Linked DNA regions of Homo sapiens: region 1 is linked to region 2. The links are contacts of gene promoters, found by promoter capture Hi-C in blood cells and fetal thymus (Javierre and others, 2016). All regions are on one chromosome and are shown on one strand. Each heading gives the region's core, a stretch centred on a gene start or on the middle of the fragment in contact. The rest is flanking DNA. Distances are from core to core; before and after follow the strand shown. Region 1 overlaps PPFIA4 (PPFI scaffold protein A4). Region 2 holds the start of PRELP (proline and arginine rich end leucine rich repeat protein).

Evidence for each region. Contacts are between HindIII fragments. The CHiCAGO score rates a contact against its expected background, and 5 or more counts as called.
Region 1: a contact is called between a fragment that was not itself captured here and the fragment with the promoter of PRELP in region 2, in 1 of 17 cell types (endothelial precursors). The highest score is 6.4, in endothelial precursors.

What each region holds. Positions count from the first base shown.
Region 1 is chr1:203,051,870-203,056,324 of GRCh38, reverse strand. PPFIA4 (PPFI scaffold protein A4) reads right to left here. Exons shown (of 30, transcript NM_001304331.2): 14 at 4,448-4,455; 15 at 2,364-2,572; 16 at 653-893; 17 at 170-205. Among named protein-coding and RNA genes, the nearest start is that of PPFIA4, 28 kb to the right of the region's middle. RefSeq lists enhancers at 273-1,024, 1,025-1,776, 4,277-4,455. The HindIII fragment of the contact is 5,243 bases long and covers 1-4,455 here.
Region 2 is chr1:203,474,153-203,479,273 of GRCh38, reverse strand. It overlaps PRELP (proline and arginine rich end leucine rich repeat protein), which reads right to left and starts at 3,468. Exons shown (of 3, transcript NM_002725.4): 1 at 3,336-3,468. The HindIII fragment of the contact is 1,499 bases long and covers 3,105-4,603 here.

The DNA of each region.
Region 1 (4,455 bases), core at 1,229-3,728, 420 kb after region 2:
GCCTACCCAGCCCAGAAGAGGTGGCGGAGCATGGAGAAATGCAGTGGGGAGGCCCTGGGTGCCTCTCTGAGTTCAGACTCAGACTCAAGGGCCCTGGGGGAGGAAGCTGAAAGGAAAGGGCATGGGAGCAGTGAACCCGTTAGTACCTGGGCCATCAGGCAGCACTCACCAGCAGCTTCCTCCTATGCTTTCTTAAGTCACTGGGCTGCAAGAGAGAGGGATGGGTAAGCTCAGACTCACCCTCTGGGTGCCCTAGAGCCAACCCCAGGGGAGCCCAGTGGTCTTAGGATGAGAAGATAGGATTCAGTGCCTCACACAGGCCCGGAGAGAATATCACGCCAGAAAAAAAAAAAAAAGCTGGCCTAGAAAAACAAGCCAGGGCTTATTTCTCTGGAAGAAAGGAAGAGGTGAGGGCAGTGGGTGAGTTTCTTAAGCAGTCTGGGCTCATCCAAGGGAGAGGGCAAAGAAGATATGACCTAGGCCCTTCCCAAACCCAGAAGGACAGGCTGGTGGCCTGACATGTCGGGGTCTGCACACACCATGGGAAGAAGATGGCAGGCCCAGCTGAGAGCACGTGAGTCCTACCATCCCTTAAAACCTCCCCCGGTGCAGGGTCCAGTGATGCCAGGCCTGCTCCTCAGCTGCCTCTCACCAGGGTCATGACCCCCATTCGGTCCAGGTCCTGGGCAGCACTGCGGGAGGTGAGCTTAGGTGTGGAGCGGCCGCTGAGTGGTGGGGACGCGCTGGCCAGGGACAGGGCCGTCAGAGAGGTGGGGATGGAACCACGCTTGCGCAGCTGCTTCAGGTTTAGGGCTTCCATGCTGCCACTGGTTACACGCGTCTCAATCTCCTCCGCGCGGAGCTCCGTGGACTCCTTCTCTTCCTGAATCATCCTGGAAGGGAGGCAAAACCAGACCTCACCACTAGCCCCAGCCAGGACCAGCAGGAGGCAGTGCGGGTCGATGCCTGCACTCGCCACCAAGGACCACATGCGGTGTACACCCGCCAGGCTTTGTCTGTCCCACTGGAGCTTAGAAACACATCTCTTTCTTGTTAGCTTGCCTACTCCCTCCGTTTAACAAAAGCAGCTGCTGGGGAAGGAGGCACTTTCGTCAGTGGAACATAAACCATCCTGAAAATCAGAATTCTTGACATACCCCTAACTATAGGGTGGCCTTGAGTCAGGTATTTTGCTGTCTGTGCCTCAGTTTCCCAACATATGCTATGTCTGAAGTGGTATAAGTCAGCAGTTTCCAAGTGTAGGACTTTTAAATGATGCTGACCCCTGGTGGGGTTTTCCCTGTTCCACAGAAAAATGAGAGAAATAATAAAAATGGTACACGTGTGTGCCTGGGAGGCACTCAGCAAGGAGTGCATGCACACGCACACACACACACTCTCTCACACACACATGCTCCAGTAAAGATGCCCACTCCCTTTCACAAAGAAGGACTCGCCTTTATTCTGAGTATGTCTTTCTTACTTCAGGAATGTTAAAATGTCCTTTCTTTTGCAAAATGATTGCGATAATAGATAGTCATTATCATTAATGTTTTACTTTGCAAAATAAAAAGCTGGTGGTCCTACGTTTGTACCTTTCTCTCTCTCTCTCTGTGTGTGTATGTGTGTGTGTGTGTGTGTGTGTGTGTGTGTCTTCTTTGTAACTGGTCTGTGCAATACATTGAACCATTGAACTGGATGTCCTGTACAGCTTATAAAGCTCTGATACACTCCAGCTCAGATATTGCCCTGCTGTTTGTCATTAACATTAATAAACTCATTAAAAAGGCAGGACAAAGTGAAGGTTTTCACAACGTTCCCTGTCACTGTTTCTGTTTGATGCCTTATTAGGGACAGGAGGCATGGTGCAGTGGGCCAAGTTCAGACTTGAGTTTGAATCCTGGCTCTGTCACTTCTGTGTGGCTTTGGGCAAGTCACTTAACCTCTCTGAGTTTCTGTTCCCTTGTCTGTAAAACAGGGATCATGCTGCCTACCTCAGGCACTGTGGTAAGATGGACAGTGACATTTACAAAGCTCTCACCCTGAGCTAGCCTCAGTAAGCAGGAGCTACACTCTTAGTGGTTAAGATCAGCTGCAGGGCTGCAGGAACACAGCATGCATCCTCCTGAGCCCAGCCACATCGCAAGCCCTGAGAGGGGAGGTGAAGCCTGAGAAGTCCACTGAGGCCCTGCTCCTCTCACTCCGGCACTGGCAGCGGGCCTGATGACCCACAGAGGGTCCCTGAACTGTGGTACTCTAAGTTGCAGCTATAAGAGTTGGGCAAACCCATATAGGGTTTTTCCAACACAAAGGGCCCCCCTGCCCTTCAATGCACTTCCCAAGCCCTCCAGCCCTGCCCTAACCTGATTTCCTCATTGATGGCATCCAGCTGCTCCTGCAGCATCATGGCCAGGGTCTGGGCATCTGAGTGGCCGCTGGGGGAGACAACATCCGCAGAGCCCACCAGACCCCCTGGCTCATCCTCATCCACGTCGGAGATCTCAGGGTCACTGTCAAAGGCAGGGCCAGCTGCCGGGGCCAGCATCCCAGGCAGTGGAGAAGTCTCCCAGTCCTTAGCAAAGGAGGAGGGTAAAGGAGTCGTAATAAGACACCCAGATAACTGCAGAGCAGGACCCTCCCTACCTCTACCCACCAGCACTGGCATCTCCTGGGAGCTTGCTGGAAATGCAGAATCTCAGGCCGCACCACCAGACCTACTGATTCAACATCTGCATTTTAACAAGACCCCTGGGTGGTTTTTTGGTTTTTGGTTTTTGGTTTGTTTGTTTTTTGAGATGGAGTCTCCCTCTGTCACCCAGGCTGGAGGGCAGTGGCGTGATCTCGGCTCACTGCAACCTCCGCCTCCCAGGTTCAAGCAATTCTCCTGCCTCAGACTCCCGAGTAGCTAGGATTACAAGCGCACGCCACCACGCCCGGCTGATTTTTTGTATTTTAGTAGAGACGGGGTTTCACCATGTTGCCCAGGCTGGTAGTGAACTTCTGAGCTCAAGCAATCCACCCACCTCAGCCTCCCAAAGTGCTGGGATTACAAGCGTGAGCCACCGTGCCCGGCTGACCCCTGGGTGATTTGTTTGCACATTACAGTCTAAGAAATACTGCTCTAACTGTTAAGAAGAGAATCCAGAGAGAGACGGCTTTGGTTTGAATCTCATCTCCACCAAACACTAGTTGTGCAACCATAGGAACATTTTTTAACCTCTCTGTGCCTCAGTTTCTTCATCTGTAAAATAGGGATGGTAAAGTACTTACCTCATAGATAGCTGTGAGGATCAAATGAGGAAAATACATGTAAAGCCCTTAGCACTGTGCCTGGCACAAAGCAAGCACTACATAAATGCTATCAGTTTCCATCCATACAAACTCAAAGGCTGACTACACCCAGAGAACAGAAAGGCCAAGCAGGCCTGAATAGACAGTCTGCAGAGTTTCAGATCATCACAGGACAGTCTGGTCAACCCTGAGAGGCGGCAGCTTCTCTGAAATCATCCTACAAACCTATCCAGCGGACAAAGGCCCAGAAGAGGGGAGGGTGGAGAACAGAAGAGTAGAGAAGGAAGGAAGGGAGCCAGGGACAGAAAGGTACTCTAACACCCATCCTCTATGACCCAAGCCCCCTAGCTCCCCTTCAGGCTCCTGCAGCCTCTCAGCTCCTGGATAGCTGCTATATTCTTATAAACAGAAAGAGCAAAGAAGTCGGGGGAGAAAGAAAAAGAGGCACCTTCAGACTGTGACTCCCCCATCGGACTGAGGATTTCTTAAGGGCAGAGTGAATCTTCCCCTGAGACTAGGAGTTCCCTCTTTCTCCATCTATATCTTCTAATACCCCAGTGCTCTAAATGATATTTAGAGGACCTGGATTCAGGACAGAGCATGACGAATAATTGCACTTTCCCAAAAGATCAAACTCGGCATTTTTCTGCCCCATATCTTTCCTCATTCTCCCCTAATCTCCCTAGGCAGACTCAGACAGCATGAACTCACAGCTGCTTCTCGGAAAACTCCAGGTGCCATCCCAAGGGCCAGTTAACCTGTCATCCCTCCCTCGTCTCCGCCATGAACCACAGCTTTTGTTCCAGAAAGTCTGCCAATTCCATCTTACCCGTGAAGCTCCCCCACCCCCCACGCCCGACCACCAGATACACACGCCTGCACGCCCAGGCACACGCACACACACTTCAGTGGGGCCTCAGGGACTGTTGGCTGCCTGCCAGCCCCCACCTCTTGCCCACCAGGAGGCCAAGGCAAGCGGGGGGGGGGGCACAGCTGTTGCAGCTGACGATGGCCTCAACCCCAGGGCTGCAGCTGTCATTGACACGGGAGGGAAGGGGAAGGATTTGCCCCACACACCAGCCGTCTGCGTAACTGGAGCCAGGCACGCGGCCGAATTGACCCCAAACTCCCTGAGGAGATCCCTCCACCCCCTCACCTTGGCAG
Region 2 (5,121 bases), core at 2,219-4,718:
TTTAAGGCTAATTGGCTTTGTATGGAGAGGTTGAGGTTGGGCTGGGAATGAGGTTGGGTTTGTCTCCCAGGGCTAGGCAGGGCTAGCAGCAGGGTTACGCCGCACTCTGAACTGGCATTCTTCTTACTTGTCAGATCTCCTGTCTAATTGGTCACCCCTAAGCCTCCATGCCTTGACCCAGAGCTACCCTGCAGTGGAGAATGGGGCTGCTTCTGACCTAGCGCTGTGCCGGTGAATGTCGGAACACCCCTCTCTCTTTTTTCCCTTCTTTCTGTTCTCAACCTAGGTGTCTGAAAGCCATCCTGCTCTCTGTATCTCTTCCTGTAGTCCAGAAGGGTGTTGGAAGCAGGGAGAATCAAGCAGTCTTTGCCAATTTATGAGCAGAGTTAGTAGAGGAGTGAGCCTGAGGCCCTTTCAAGGCCCCCATTAGGGCTGATGTGGTCCTGAGATAACAAAGGAGCCTTATGGGGGCATGATGACTTCAAGATGCCCCTTTCTAGGAAGGTGAAACGATACAAGGATGAGCTTGCCTGGGGCAGTGGGAGGAGAGCCTGTGGTGCATACTAGTTAGGAGAGAAGATTCTCACCCCTCCACCACTACCTAGTGATGCGAACCCTGTTCTGGGCCTCAGTTTTCTTATCTGTAAAATGGGAATAAAAAAATCTTCCCTATACCTATATTCCTTACCCAATTGTCAGAAGCAAGTGCAGTTAGCAGCTTTAAAATGCACTACAGATCAAAAAGTGCTAAAAATAAAAATAACACTATTATGGAGAGACCATCTGTCTCCCCAGTGTCTACCACAAGGCAAAGTGTAAACAGAATGAAGATTTTCTGGCCTCAGGCCACTAGTTTAGAAGAGAAAGTTTTCCATTCTGAGCGGTGGGGAAGAAACCAGGGTGAGACGACTCTTCTCTGACAGCCCGCCACCTACCATATCCTCTGCCCCATTCCCCCAGCATCTCCAAGCCTTGAAGAAAGCCTAGAAGAGTGTGTCTGATGCCTTGAGTGATTATAGATCTGAGACCCAATCCTGCAGTTCTTCATTCAGATGCTTAGCTAGGTAGGCTTAGGCAAAGCAATTGCTTTTCTGCTCTATAAAATGGGGATACTAACACCTTCTTTTCTGTTTTGAGGGTTAAATGAGTTAATACATGCAAAGTGAGTGTTTTCTGAATGTTAAGGTCTTGTTGATATTATTTCAAAGTAATGGGGTCTCCTTCCCTCCAGCCTGGCTAGAGGGCAGCCCCCATGCACTGCTCGAAGGCAGGGATCCTTGTGAGTGGGGTACCAGCTCTTCCACACAGAGCAACTTCCTCCCCTTTGTGGCTTGTGAGATCACACTTGGGTCTCAGAAACAACTAACTGAGGAGACTCTGGAAGTCCCCAGCCACCTAGGGAAAGCTTGTTCTGTCTTTCTAATTCACCAACTTCTCACCGATGCTTTCTGCAACAGGTGAGGGGACACTGGCCACAGAAGGTGCAAGTCTGCCTTCCTCAGTGGGCCATGGAGTTCCACTGCGATTCTTGACTTCTCCCAGCTTTTTGCCCCTTCCAGCCTTGAAATGCTTCACTCACATGCCCAATAAATGGGATTGCCCACTAGGGAGGTGGAGGGGGCATGAAGAAAGTGTTCAGCTCACCCTCTGTGAGAGCCCAGACAGGTGGCTGCTGGGAAGGAGGAGCAGGGACCTATAAGGGTCAGGGGAAGGGCCCAGCACATGCTCCTGGGGTCCTGGGGCAGGCAGATTAACAGGTGAGGGGAAACAGAAGCTCTGTGGAGCCATCTTGGGGGAACTTTCTTACTGGAATGTTCCTCTGTGGTATATATGGCTGCTTGTGCTTGCAAGGAGGAGAGAGGGAGACAGCTCTTCCCTGTTTACTCCCACTCCCCAAAAAAGAGGTGGCCTATTTGGGACACTCTGGTGCTCCTTTTCCAGGACACAGTCCTTCTGCCCAGCTAACACTGCCGGAGTCTTGGGCTTAAAAATTACAGCAAAGCTCTCTCTCAGGCCCCTGATTCTCGAGCCCTGGTGGACCATCAGAATCTCCTGAAGTATTAAAACAAGATTCCTGGGTCTCGATTCAGTAGATCTGCAGTGAGAGCCGACATCTGTATTTTTAGTAAGCCCTCCACACTCCTCCCTCTCCAGCCCTTAGGTGACTGTGAAGATCAGCTGTGTGTGGGACCCCTGATCTCCCTACACCCCGCCTGCCTTGGGACAGACCCTCTCTATTAATAGAGAGGAATGAGCAGGGGAGCAGGAGAGGGGCCGCCCTTCAGTTTTCCCCTCCCCAACTGCTTAAGGAACTGCTGCCTTTTTTTTTTTTTCTCCTCTGCCACAGGACCTTTTGCCAACCTAAATGGTTGGAATAATTTCAGAACGGCTTTAAAGAAAAATATTTTTCTGGCTGCCTGCAGGAAAAAAAAATAAAAAAATGAACTGTCCCCAGAGCTGGGAATTAGGACCTTCAAGGATTGGGAACTGGGTCGCTTTCTTCTTTCTTTCCAAAAGCCAAGTGGTTTGGACCAGTGAGACAGAAATTGAAAGCTGCTGAGAAGACACTGTGCAGGTTGGAAAAAGCCGTTTTTCTCTCCCTCCTACCCAGTGAAGCCCTAAATAATGAAGAAACCCTTCCAGCTCCCGCTCTTGCTTATCTCCTCCCTATTCGGCCTGGACTTGGGATGCAAGATTTTCTTCTGGCTCTGCCATCTCAGTGGGAAAACGTACTTTATCTTTGCTCTTACAGCTAGGGAGGTGTGTGTGAGAGGGCGAGAGACAAGATGCAGGGAACATGTGTGCATGCATGTGTGTGTGTGTCTGCTGGTGTCTGGTGATGATGTGGTCTAGCTCTGCATGTCAGATGCAGAGGGCAGAGGTGAATGGACAGGATGTCTTCATTTTGTATGGTCGTGTGGGGTGATGGTAGTGAACGTGCAGCCTCCGTGTGATGTGTGTGACTTCCACAATGTGTGACAATACACAAAAGGTGCAAAGAAATGGGTTCTGGAGTCCAGTTTCTATGGAAACACCTGATCTGTAGAAACACTTTGTGCAGCGTGGCTCTCTGTGCTACAACAAACATCTGCAGCAGGAAAGCTTAACTTTTGCAGTAAGCAAATATAGGGGTACAGAGTGATGAAAAGAAAAGGAAGAGGCTATAGGAAAGAAGTTAGGAAGACTAAATTTGAACTCATTTGAGAGGAGAAAGAGGTGGGAGGAAGGAAGGAGTGAGAGGATAGAGACTAGATCAATAAATGGACAGAGCTGGAGGAAACTTACTGGATGAAAGATTCTTCCCAGTCTCCTGCCCATCTCCCAACTGGGCTTACCTGCACACACCTGCCTCTCCTCTCAGCTCTGAGTTTAGTCCTCCTCTTCCACCCCCTCCCTTCGGCGGAGCTGTGGCAGCAGAGAGCCAGCTAGAAGATCTGATCTCCCAGTGGTGTGTGCGTGCTTGTGTTTGCCTGACTTTTCTTCCACCAGATCCTATTGGGGTGGGGAGGTTAGCTTGGGGGGAGGGAGGGGCAGATCATAGGGAGGGAGGGGAGGAGAGGAGGGAGGAGGGAGGGAGGGGAGGGGAGGAGAGAGGGAGGGAGCTTGGGAAAGGAGGAATGACAATAAAGTCTTTATTTGGCAGCCAAAACTCCCAAAGACTTCATCCACACACCATTCCCACTAACAGACTCATTTTTAATAACATTTCCTTCTGCTGCTGCCGCTTCTGGAGAGGGGTTGTTTGACCCATGTTTGGAAAACAAGCCAAATTAACAGAGTGAAAAGGCATGAAAAGCAACCTCTGTGTAAGCCAGGACTGGATGGCTGGGTCCAGCACTAGCCTGTTTAATTCCTCCTAACAATCGCCTTGCCTTCTGGGGCCGTTGCTCGGTAGTGTTAAATTCCTAAACCAGTGAGGGGTTTGGGATGCTTCCTCTGAGCAGTGACAGTCTTTCCCTAAGTTATCTTCTCCAGGAGGTTGCAAAGGGAGTGGAGTCTCAGGCTGGCATAGGAGATAACTTCGGTTTGGCTGCCAGGGCTGTTCTGAGAACCAGAGAGGGAGAAGTCTGGCCTGAGTTGCACAGCAAAGTTAAGGCAGAATTAAGATTTAATGTAAGACCTAAAGTCACTGTTCCTAGCTCATGTGGACAATGTAGTGGCTTCTTTCAGCTTCTCCATATCACACTTAGGTGAGATTTAGGGGCTGTGTGGTCATCACACAAAGTGATGGGAAATCCAAATTTCCCCTGTGCACATCAACACCCCAGAAGACCCAGTCAAGTAACACCACTACCTCTAACAATCCTCTAACAATGCCCCTCAATTAAGAAAGCACAACACACTTGCAGGTAAGTAGATGCCCATCAAAATTTCCTGCCATGGCCAGGCACAGTGGCTCACGCCTGTAATCCCAGTACTGTGGGAGGCAGAGGCAGGCGGATCACCTGAGGTCAGGAGTTTGAGGCCAACCTGGCCAACATGGTGAAACCCTGTCTGTACTAAAAATACAAAAAAATTAGCTGGGTGTGGTGGCGGGCATCTGTAGTCCCAGCTACTAGGGAGGCTGAGGCAGGAGAATTGCTTGAACCTGGGAGGCAAAGCTTGCAGTGAGCCAAGATCGTGCCACTGCACTCCAGCCTGGGCAACAAGAGCGTGACTCTGTCTCAAAAAATAAATAAGTAAATAAAATAAATAAATTCCTGCCATCCCAGCTGACTACTTAGAAAATGCAACGCAATTTTCTTCTCCATTATTGGTTCCATGGAGAGCTGCAGAGCCCCATGACAGGGGACTGCCTGCCTGCCCTCCGCAATATGGGGTAGAGGAGAGAACATTAAAATTAGGGTCTGCAGCCCTGGGCTCAGCCACCCACAAGCTATGGTCTTAGGTGAATCACTTGATCATGAGGACCTTCAGTTTCCTCATTTACAAAATATGGATAATATTGACCTCACAGGGTTGGGAAGATTAAATATTGTAAATGTGAGAGCACTTTATAAACTGGGAAGATATTAGGGTTTAGGAAAGGGATTGCGATGAATGGTAATTAGCCTAAGAAAAGGAGAAGGAAAAATAAAACCCAGACCTTTCTCCAACCCCCTTCCACCCCAGATCTCATGG